4 separate regions of the Homo sapiens genome follow, and regions 1, 2 and 3 are each linked to region 4. Evidence: promoter capture Hi-C in 16 types of primary human blood cells and fetal thymus (Javierre and others, 2016). All regions are on one chromosome and are shown on one strand. Each heading gives the region's core, a stretch centred on a gene start or on the middle of the fragment in contact. The rest is flanking DNA. Distances are from core to core; before and after follow the strand shown. Region 1 holds the start of SASH3 (SAM and SH3 domain containing 3). Region 2 holds the start of STK26 (serine/threonine kinase 26). Region 3 overlaps ARHGEF6 (Rac/Cdc42 guanine nucleotide exchange factor 6). Region 4 holds the start of DOCK11 (dedicator of cytokinesis 11).

Evidence for each region. The method cuts DNA at HindIII sites, captures the fragments that hold promoters and counts their contacts. A CHiCAGO score of 5 or more calls a contact.
Region 1: a fragment that was not itself captured here is called in contact with the fragment with the promoter of DOCK11 in region 4 in 1 of 17 cell types (activated CD4 T cells); the score reaches 5.7 in activated CD4 T cells.
Region 2: the fragment with the promoter of STK26 here is called in contact with the fragment with the promoter of DOCK11 in region 4 in 1 of 17 cell types (activated CD4 T cells); the score reaches 13.4 in activated CD4 T cells.
Region 3: a fragment that was not itself captured here is called in contact with the fragment with the promoter of DOCK11 in region 4 in 1 of 17 cell types (non-activated CD4 T cells); the score reaches 6.6 in non-activated CD4 T cells.

Annotation. Positions count from the first base shown.
Region 1 is chrX:129,778,014-129,780,713 of GRCh38, forward strand. It overlaps SASH3 (SAM and SH3 domain containing 3), which reads left to right and starts at 1,936. Exons shown (of 8, transcript NM_018990.4): 1 at 1,936-2,141. The coding sequence starts at 2,085. It overlaps LOC124905215 (a long non-coding RNA gene), which reads right to left. Exons shown (of 2, transcript XR_007068328.1): 2 at 562-2,266. RefSeq lists enhancers at 1,687-1,846, 2,097-2,176, 2,227-2,286. The HindIII fragment of the contact is 1,089 bases long and covers 736-1,824 here.
Region 2 is chrX:132,021,900-132,024,599 of GRCh38, forward strand. It overlaps STK26 (serine/threonine kinase 26), which reads left to right and starts at 1,403. Exons shown (of 12, transcript NM_016542.4): 1 at 1,403-1,508; 2 at 1,609-1,760. The coding sequence starts at 1,719. RefSeq lists enhancers at 951-1,497, 985-1,034, 1,485-1,644, 1,498-2,045, 2,015-2,084 and a silencer at 1,195-1,444. The HindIII fragment of the contact is 2,994 bases long and covers 1-2,438 here.
Region 3 is chrX:136,678,174-136,680,873 of GRCh38, forward strand. It overlaps ARHGEF6 (Rac/Cdc42 guanine nucleotide exchange factor 6), which reads right to left. Exons shown (of 22, transcript NM_004840.3): 15 at 2,558-2,700; 16 at 1,362-1,487. Among named protein-coding and RNA genes, the nearest start is that of CD40LG, 31 kb to the left of the region's middle. The HindIII fragment of the contact is 3,252 bases long and covers 1-2,700 here.
Region 4 is chrX:118,494,495-118,497,194 of GRCh38, forward strand. DOCK11 (dedicator of cytokinesis 11) reads left to right here and starts at 1,321. Exons shown (of 53, transcript NM_144658.4): 1 at 1,321-1,579. The coding sequence starts at 1,478. RefSeq lists enhancers at 659-728, 1,131-2,109 and silencers at 1,139-1,278, 1,389-1,468, 1,559-1,618, 1,789-1,848. The HindIII fragment of the contact is 5,195 bases long and covers 1-2,700 here.

The DNA.
Region 1 (2,700 bases), core at 30-2,529, about 11 Mb after region 4:
ATTCCTCTTCTGGATATTTCCCCTACAGAAAAAAAACTATGGATGTGAATATTTACCATAAGTATGTTCAATGAATAATTTAAAAATTTAAGCCAACCCAAGTTCATCAGCAAGGGCTTGGTGAAATAAGCACGGCACATCCACACAATGGGATGTTCCACAGCCGTTATAAATTACGTAGTTGAAGACTATTTCATAGCATGAGACAATCTTGATACTGTGTTCAGCTGGACGTAGTGGCTCACGCCTGTAATCCCAGCACTTTGGGAGGATGAGGCAAAGAGGTCACTTGAGACCAGGAGTTCAAGACCAGCCTGGGCAACATGGTGAAACCCTGTCTCTACAAAAAATACAAAAATTAACCAGGGTGGTGGTACGCACCTATAGTCCCAGCTACTTGGGAGGCAGAGGCACAAGAATTGCTTGAACTCAGGAGGTGGAGGTTGCAGTGAGCCGAGATCACGCCACTGCACTCCAGCCTGGGAGACAGAGTGAGAGACTCCATCTCGAAAAAAAAACAAAAAAGATACTGTGTTTAGTGTGAAAAGCAGACACCAATAGTGTGAATTATGACCTTTTTTAATTAAAAAATTTTAAACAGCTTTATTGAGGTATAATGGAGCTACAATAAACTGCACATATTTGAAGTATACAATTTGATACGTTTTGACATGTGTATTCCCCCATGAAATCATCACCACAGTCAAGATAGTGAACATATTCATCACTCCTAAAAGCTTCCTGTTACCCTGTGTGATGTCTCCCTTCCCTTCTCTCCCCTCCCCTTCTCCCCAAACCAATTATCTGTTTTCTGAGCAGTATGATTTTTGTAAAAAGAAAAAAAATGTTTATAGACAGAGAGTAGATAGATGCTTAAAACAGTGTAGAGGACAATGATGGGAAATTTTGAAATTTTTTTTGTTTATGTGTTTGTGAAATTGTATGACAAATACAAGTTGCTTTTGTAATACCAAGAAGTTATTAAAGTTATTAAAATCTGCCACAGACAACCCACAAATTGAATATACTGCATAGGTGTTTGATAAATGCCTGTTGGATACTTGCTAGAGGTGTGGAGTTGGCTGTAAGTGCTTTTCAGCTGTGGTGGTGATAAATATACTCATGATGGCTGAGGGGTACTGACTGGAGGGGTGACTGCTCTAGTGATGATGGCTTTAGGTGTACTGATGGCTGTAGGAGTGATGGCTGCAGGGCTGATGGCTGCACGGATGTGATGATGGTTGTAGGAGAGATGACTGTAGGGACGATGGTTATAGGGGTGAGAGGGTCATGAGTGCGGTTGGCTGTAATGTCCAGAAGGGTGACAGCTGTAAGGATGATGGCTGGAAGGGTGATAGCAGCAATGGTGATGACTGTAGAGGTGATGGCTGAAGGATGTCAACTGTAGAGGTGATTACCATAGTGACAATGGCTATAGGTGTGCTGATGGCAGCGGGGATGGCTGCAGGCCTGATGGCTGTAGGGGTGATGGCTGTATGGTGATGGCTATTGATAGGAGTGATGGTAGCAGTGGTGATGGTCACAGGGGTGATGGTAGTGGTAGTGATGGCAGTGACGACCTTGAAGACGTGAGTTGACCGGGAGCATTGATCCAACAGGCAGCCAGATGGTCCAACTTCTGGTTTCTGGATTCTGGTCAGTGAGATAAAGGGCTTGGGTACGCCATATAATGTCGAGCTGATTGTCCACCTCTAGGAAGATGGAGCAGAAGGACTGATGATGATCGACATGAGACAACAAGGTAGGGACTTTCTCTGACTGTTCAACCCAAGAGCCGTCTGCATCAGAATCTCTGGAGACTGAAGCTTGGACTTCCTTCCTCCCTAGGGGCCGGCAGGGGCTGCGATTGCTGTAAGAGTAGGTCACGTGGCAGGGCTTCCTGTATGCTGCTGCTGCCGGGTGTCCATGGCCCGCACCCCCAAGCTGCCACTGCAGCAGTCAGAGTGGCAGCTGAAGGCTCGGTTCATGCCGTGCCCCCGGGCAGTTCTGGTGAGGCTAAGCAAGAGGCCTCTGCATCTTGACACCTAGGAGAGCAGGGACGGAGTCTCCCAGGGTGGAGGACCATGCTGCGCCGCAAGCCCTCCAATGCCAGTGAGAAGGAGCCCACTCAGAAGAAAAAGGTGAGGAGCATTTTGGGAACTCACATCTTCCTTTCCTCTGCTTGCTCGACCCATCCCTTCCAAGACTCTTGGAAGTGGGAAGAGCCAAAGGCCATATGTTGAGTCTGTAGGTGAGGGCCACTCACCTAGAAGGCAACGGGACAGGGACCCAAAGGTTAACAGAAGTACAGAAGAGATGTTTAAAATTCTGGAGCAACAGAGTTACAGAATAGATCCTTAGAAATCTAGAGTCATGCAATTCAACCCTAGAAGAATGGGAAAAAAGATCTAAAATTAGGGGCCAGAATCTTAGACTAGAATTTGAGAATAACAAAATACAATGCTTAAGCTGAACCCTAAGCTTGTACTTAACTATCTCTCCTCTACGCTGGTCCTGCTGCCACTTCTGCCCCGGCCACGGCCTCTCAGGAGCCATCTCACTCAAAGGGCCCTGCTGGGCTGCCCAGCTTGGAGCCATGATGCTCACAGGACTGCCACCCCCTCCTCCACTTTGGCCATGGCCCAGACCCTGCCCACTTGGCTCAGCTCTGTGGTAGCTCCCAGGCCCTACCCGAGATGG
Region 2 (2,700 bases), core at 153-2,652, about 14 Mb after region 4:
AAACACAAACAGAAACCATAGAGAAAGTAGTAAGTTTATCACCAGTCAGAGGGACCTGCGTCTGAATTCCCAGCTGTACCACTTCTTAATTGCGTGACATTTCGGTCAAATTATTTAACCTGGTTGAGCCTTTTTCTTCATCTGTAAAATGAGGGGAAATCAATAAGACTCCAGAAGGCCCTTGTACAGGTTCAGTAAGGTATTAATAACACATAGAAAGCACTTAGCAGTCCCTGGCACAATGAAAATAATATCCATTAATAATAACGATATTGATAAGAATTATATACTATTCTCTGAAAAAGATTTAAAAGGAAGAAGAGAAACTATCTTTTACCACTAGAGGCCCCCCACCGTGTGGTGCGTAGAGACCCATAACAAATTTCAAGGTAAGGAACTTCATCTTCATTTTAAACTGGCACTCGACTATTACTTTTTTAAAAAGTAATTAACCCCTTACGTGTTCCCAAAGGTGCCTTCATAATGAAATTCCTGTTACTATTATTACCAGTGTTACTGTCGCTACTGTTAGAGTACTCTCAAAAGAGCCTGTCTCCCTCTCCTGGAGTAGAACTTAAAATGGGGCGGAGGCAGGGAGTTACCAAAACCACTGCAGTGTATGCTGATTTCAATAACCTGTACTGCTAACGATCCAATCTCATTTCCCAAGCCTCTACTATCCTCATTAATTTTTCTGCCGATGTACCATCTGTTTTCCAATTTCCCTCTGCCTTACACGTGCAGAACTTGTGGTAGAGAGAAGCCCTAGTTTGGCCGTTCTGCAAGGGATAGCCCAGGAGGTAGGGGGAACCTTAAGTTGAAGTCACCTGAAGCATGTTTGGGGTCAGGGAACTCGGAAAGCAAGAGTGTGGCCACAGATCTGCCCAGAGGCGCGACCCCCAGCTGAGGAGACCAGATGGCGGGAAAAAGCGGGGGTCCACCGACTCCGCGGCTATCTGTAATCCTACCCTTGGCCAGGCCGGGGAGCCAAGAAAGACTTCCAACACTCCCCAAGTTTCAGCTCAAGTCGTCTCCGAGGCTGCGTGTGCCCCAGCCTCGCACGCCTCCCTGCAACGTGGCCGCATCTGGGGCGCCCTCATACCCTCAGGGTTTCCCAAACTCTTCCATTCTCTTCCCAGGCCCAGCCATGTCCCAGGTCTCCGGGTCCCCGGGTTCTCCTCTCCGCGTGCCGGGAGAGTCTCCAGCTTCTCAGACTCCAGCAACCCCAGCCAAACCTCTTCGCTGCCTGGAGCCTTGGCTCCCGCGACACCGCCCGGCTGCGGGGCGGGGGCAGGGCCAACGGCGGAACCGCCCCCAACCGCCTCCCAGGCCAGGCGAGCAGGCGGGTGGCTGGGGCGCCTCCACCTCCTCTTCCTAAAGCGGCGAGGCGCAGAGGAGCGGCATCACTCGAGCCCAGGTCCCAGCCACCACCACTCACAGCGCTCGGCGTTCAGGAAGAGGAGCAGCAGCGGAGGCGGCTGCTTCAGCGGCGGGCGGGCGCCAGAAAGGTAGACTGAGTCCCAGGGAGCTGCGCCGCTAACAGCCCACCTCCTAGCCCCGGGCTACGCGCCGCCAGCCCAGTAACCCCACTTTTGTGTGTCCTCCCAGGCCCCGATCGAAAAGCCTGGGAGGGCCGCCGAACTACCCCCGGAGGGAGGAGCCAGTCCGAACCCAAGGCGCCACCGCCGCAGAAGCGGAGCGAGGCAGCATTCGCCTCCATGGCCCACTCGCCGGTGGCTGTCCAAGTGCCTGGGATGCAGGTGAGGAAGCGCAGGCCGCCCCCGCCGCCCACGTGACTGCTTGGGAGCCCGGTGCGCCCTCGGTGCTGGGCACCGGCGACAAGGGACGGCCCCAGGGCTCCCCTGAGGGCAGGGCCGGTCACTATGGCCAGGTGACCTGGGAGTAGGGCTGGAGGTGTTTCCTGGTGTGTAGGCTAGGTAGTGCTCTTCGCTGGGAAGGCGAGGCGGGACTGGAGCGCGCAACTAGGTGGAGATTGAGGGCGGTTGGGGGTATAAAAATAGGCCAGAGCCACAGACACCTGCGCCTGCTGAGCTTGGCACGGTTGGGGATGGGGGGGCGGAACTTAACCTGGGAGAGATGGAAGTGCCTTGGAATTTGTGGGGTATAACGCGAGTAGTGAGTGCCCTACACCCCCCACCCCAAACACACACTCAAGTTGGGGCGGGGCAACACCAGGGGTGGCGGCGGCGGCGGCTTGAATTGGGCTCTTCCTGTGTGCGTAGGGCTAAGAGAGAGGTGACCTCTTTCTCCCTTTCGGTACTGCTGCTTAAGGGCAAAGTTGTAGCTTGCTCCCCGACCTAGCCCAGCCCATAGTGTGGCGTGAGAAATGCTGGTTCTGTTCAGAGTCACTGAGGTGATGACTTCTCAGCCCCCTCCGTGCCTTTCCCACAAGATGACTGTTACATGTGGTTAAAGGAAGCTTTTTGTCTTGGACAAGGGACTACTGCATGGGACCCAACTTGTTACTCGAAGTCTACCCAGCCCAACCCCCTCCCATTATATTTTCATTTTATTAAAGATAAGCTATGTCAGAAAACTTTTTATGCTGTTATGTTTTTAAATCGGTGCATTTTAGGCTATCTGCTAAGTGTTATCCAAATTTACTAACTTTTTAAAGCATTCATGTTCTATTTTTTTTTCCTTTGCTAGATGGCCTAAACAACCCATTTAGGGGCTAAA
Region 3 (2,700 bases), core at 66-2,565, about 18 Mb after region 4:
TGAAAACAACTGAAATACATACTATCTAGTAGGAATATATTAATAACTCTCTTCCCCCAGCAGAAACAAAGTGATCATGCCTTAGTTTTAATAGATTAGTTTTGTGAAGGATTAAGTCAACTTTACTCTTCAAAGCTCACCCTTAATTTGAACTTAGTAACTGATAATTACAAAATATCCATCATTAAAAAGGGGGCCTAGGTAACTATCAAGTGGCACTCCTGGTTTACATAATCAAAGAAGAAAATTGGATGATTGCAAGAATTGCACGTAAATTTCCAAAGCAAATCTGTGGGACTGCTTCCTGACCAAATTCTAAATAGAGTTATATAACAAAGATTCAGTTCGAGGGTTGTTTGTCCTATCATGTCAAGTTGAAAGGATCAAAAAATCCTCCAGTGTCCAAATATTGTCCTATTTTTACTGCACTTAGAGTTGGTAGCAACAATTAATCGAAACAAAAGCATGGTGGTTTCAATCAAAACACTCAAAATTGAGCTAAGTCTGCATCACTCATCAAAACACACGTTTGATATAGAAATATAAGCCACCTTTGCCCCATAATTCTAAGACTCATCTCATAACTGTCACAAACTTAATCTTCACTCAACAAGACCAATTTAAAGAACAGTTACTAATAAATGAGCATCATTTCTGAAATCTGAAATGATTTGAGACAGGTTAGGGATAAAGCCACTGTTTGGATGGAAAAGTAATACTCCACACAGTTACAGAAGCTAGTGAGTGACACTTCCTGACTGCAACTTTGAGAGAAAAAAAAAATACACAAAACCTTTAAATCCCCACACTACCCAAATATCAAATGGCCTTTAAGGTTGTCTCTGAGAAGCCTCTTTTTAAAAGACACTGCTTTCATCAAATTCTTTTCTCATTCCAATTGCAGCAAATATCACTTTTATAGTTTGGACTCATAGCTTGGTCCCATAACACTTTACTAATTTGGTTCAAATTGATCAAAATGATCCCAAATGCTGAATTAAGTCTGCTTCATTGGCAACTCAACTACAATGAAGTGGCTCTTGTTTGAGATTTGTGTACATTATTAACAAATCTAAAGGATTATCATAATAATCATTAAGGTAAACCAGAGGCACTTCAGGAGGAGACTGGGAACACTCAGGCAGTGCACATAGATCCTGTAGATATTCAGTACATATTTGCAGATGGACAATGGGAAATGGAAAATTAAGAAATCAAACAAATCACTGAGTCTGGCAATTCAAGACTGACTCACATAATACCATCTATCTTAAATTCTAGCACATTCCCACAGAACTATTTGTAATAAGCTACGAAATTAACTTGTCAGAAGCATTTTATACCATAGGTAGCAAAATTACCTCTTTATAACCTAGTGCTGCTGATGGTCTAAGTGGAGGTGCAGGTCGTAGACAACTTAAACTCCACGGTTTTATAATTTGAGGAGGCTCCAAGGGTCCTCGGGGCTGTCCGGTAGAGCTAAAAGACTGGGAAAATGTCTGATGAGATGTTGGCAATCTGCCATCTGAACCCGACCTTGTGCCACACAGTGAGAGAACAACAATAGCTTCATTGGATTAGCAAAGACAGCCATAGAAAGGGATAGATGGAAAAACAAAAGTCTCTAGTTTGAGAACTGGTTCTTTCCAGTCCAGATTATCGGGTCTCTAAGAAACAGCACAAAATTGACTCAACATTCCATGATCCTGTCCTCTCTTTCTCATCTGGAATTTAATTAATTTAATTTTCTTTCCTCTGTAAGGAAGGAAAATGGAGTAGCAGTCAACATTTGAGTTCAGTGATATGTTTGGCACTCTAGTAGGTGCTTAAATAGGTTATTTCATGAGAACAGCCTAAGACATAGACTCAGTCAAGGGAAGCAACTAACTAGTAATTGGCAAAGCCAAGATTTGAACCCAGATCTGAAGCCAAAGTCCATATTCTTCCAACCACAACACACAGTCCTCAAAACTGGAATTTTGGCATCATAGGTTTGTATGTTAACAAACAACACAGCATATCTTCCATCTCACTCAGCAAGTACAGTAAAATCTCATCAATTCAAATTCCAATGTCTAAATTTGTGATAACTCAGAAGGAGATAATGCTAAAAGTTTACCTTTGAAGAAGGTTACTGAGCAAATGTGAGAGCATGAGTGAGATGACATGGAGATGTTTAAGTACTTAGGGAGGTAAACTATTTGTTTCGACTTAGCCCACTGTTAGTAGGAGAATAACCATTGCTCATGGAAATAAGCCTTGCTTATCATTAAAATATTTTAGCAGGACTTCTGGTTAGAAATACTTTGCTAGCAGTTAGTTGGGGTATCTGAATACTGTCAAACAGAACTGCACACTCTAAGTAAACCTTTTCATTAATTTGGATGGGCCTCATAATGAGAAATCAGAATGAGTGAGGTTTAACTGTACTTCAAAATCTACAAATATAGGCTGCCCAAAAGACTAAGGGTGTGCTCGCTGCTTCTTGTAAGTCTCCAGCAGGCAGGAGTTGACGAAAGACTCAATAATCTCTGGACAGAACACATGGACTACTTACAGAATGAGCACTACATGATGACGATGAGGTTTTGGATAATGAACTGCAAGAGGCAGGTCCTCTGATCAGTCTGTTCAGCTGCTCCAACCATTCCTGGAAGTCCTGGTTGTTGTTACAATGGACCACAATTCTCTCCACTGTGT
Region 4 (2,700 bases), core at 71-2,570:
CCCTAAAAGACTGTTTGGTCTTTGAGGGTGGGGAAAGTGCCCGATGGGTGGTGGTAGGACTGCTTTCAGAAGGGCTGCTCGGTCCCCCAGACTGAGGGCCATTTTCAAACTCTCAACAAATGAAATAACCAGATAGAAAACTGCCACCATCAGTGGAGCCTTTCACTCTGCACTTCAGGAGGTCTGACAGGGTCACTAGTACTTCAAGATTCCCGTCCCTATTTCTGTCTTAAGCATGTTCGTTTTATACCCTGTTATGAGATGTTCTTTGATTCTTGGAAAAACAATTTCTTGGAAGCTGAAAAGAGTAAGGAGATGAATAGGAAATGGAGAGGTGAGTGCAGGGCACTTGTAAAAGCTACTATAAGATTGGTAAGTCCACCAAACCCAGGGAGATGGCCTTCCTAATGCCCACCCCCACCCCACTCCTGGTGCAGTCAGTGCTGACCTAGGGATCACCTGCCACAGGCTCATCCTAATGCCCACCCCCACCCCACTCCTGGTGCAGTCAGTGCTGACCTAGGGATCACCTGCCACAGGCTCAGGCTCCACCACCCAGCTCTCCCCCGTGGGGGACGGAGCGAGGGGTGCCGCCACAATAAGTTCCCACTTCCAGAAGCATGCTCTCTCCCCAGTGTTGCCCCCTGTTAGGTGAGCCAACTGAGTAGGAAAACGGTGTGGGCGAGGAGGGGGACCCAGTCGAGCCGCTCACGCTGGAAAGCAGCTCTCTGTCCTTCGACATTGGTGCGACCCTTCCCCAAGGAGCACACAAAAGGCGGCTGCTCCACGTTGTTTTCCAGCCCCTAGCCGCCTGGGCCCTGGGGGCTTGCGGGGTGGAGGGACGTGAGAGTTCTCCAGCCCTCCTGCGGGCACTGCAGCTCGGAGGCGGGAGAGGAGCACTAGGGCGGGAGAGGAGCACGCCCCACTCTTGGAGACATTTCATCACCCCTCTCTGTTCCCCCACCCCACCCCGCCCTCCCCACTCAAGCGGAAAAAAAGAAGCAGCCCAGATCTCCCCTCCCGGATGCGGCTGCACCAGCAACATCAGCTGCGGGCGGAGCCCGAGCGGTAGCCACTTCCCCCCTCTTCCCTCGTGACCCTCGCCCCCACCTCCAGTTCTCCCTCCCCCTCTACACACCCTTCCCCATCAGACACACCCTCCTGCTTCGGCTGGTGGCGATCGGAGCTCGGGCCCTCTAGGGGAGGGAGCTGCCGCCGCCGACGCCGTGGGGCAGGACAGTGAGCGGGCGAAGCGAGCGAGAAAAGGAGGGAAGGAGGGAACGAGGGAGGAGCAGCGGGTGGGAGGTGGGAGGGAGGAGCAGCGTGAGCCGCGCCGCCGCCGAGCTGCGATGTGGCCGGCCGGCCGGCGAGTAAACAGAGGGAGCAGCAGCGGCCGCGGCCGCCGCGGGCCGGGGCAGTGAGTCCACCCGCCCGCCGAGGTCCGCCCGCCCGCCGAGACCCGCCCGCCGCCGCTGCCATGGCCGAAGTGCGCAAATTCACCAAACGGCTCAGCAAGCCTGGCACGGCGGCTGAGCTCCGGCAGAGCGTGTCTGAGGCCGTGCGGGGCTCCGTGGTGCTGGTGAGTGGCCGGGGGACGGGGCATCCCGGGGGACGCGCTCCAGGCGGGAGCGACGCGGGAAGGGGCAGGAACGGCGCCAGTGCGGCCGCTTGGTGCGCCGCGCGCTGTCTTTCTCCGCTCCAGTAAGTTTTCGCACCGGCAGCCGCCGGCCGGGGTCCGAGTCCCAGGCGCCGGCTGACAGCTCTCCGGCCGCCCGGCACGGCGGAGGCGTGCGCCGGGATGGAAGCAGACGGGCAAAAGCCGGGCTCGGACGGCTGCGGAGGAGGCGGAGGCGGAGGCTCCCACCCAGGGTCGGGGCCGGGGGTGTGAGCTAAAGAGCTGACCTCGCGCTGCTCTGGACTCGGCACAAAGAGCCGGGGACAAGGGCACGACGAGATCCTGATCCCCTCCCGCGAGCACCTGAGGCCGCCTAGGCGGAAGGATGCGATGAGCGTTTGGCACACACACTCTCGCGCGCACACATACACACACTGTGTACACAAAAAAGAACCCCACCCAGAAAGCCCCGGGCGCCCAAGCTCGGGCTGGCGGTGAGAACAGAGGAAGCAGAGCGACTTCCTCCTGCAACTGGGGAGAGAGGGTGGTGATGGGTGTTGAAGGGGTGCTGCTGCGGAGGAAGGGCATTAGAAACAACGGGGTTCTGCGACAGAGTGGGCGCAGGGTCATCCACCGCAGGGAGAGTGTGTCCCTCGGGGACACGCGAGCGCTCCAGAGGCAAGGGGACCAAGGGGACGGTGCCGTGGGGATTTGGGGGAAGACTGGGTGTGTCAGTCCAGGGATGGAGGACCTGGGGTCAGAGCCCCACAGCTCAGGACTGGGGGATGGGGATTCGAAAGCGCGCTGACTCCCTGGGAACCCTCCCAGAGCACCCTCAGCCTTATCCAGATTGTCTGACTCTGGAGAAAGGCTAAAGGGTGCTAACGGGCACTTGCCCCTTCTCTTGTTTTCAAGACACTCGTTGCCAGTTTCCTGGACAAGCGAACAAACCCTGAATAAGCAATCGGACTGATTAATTAGTGTTTGTTTTGTTACTTTGTTTTTTGGTTGTTGTTTTTGTTTGTTTTTGTCTCCCTCAGCTCCATTTTACAGCGAGTCGTTTGCTGTGTTTAAATTTCACCGTT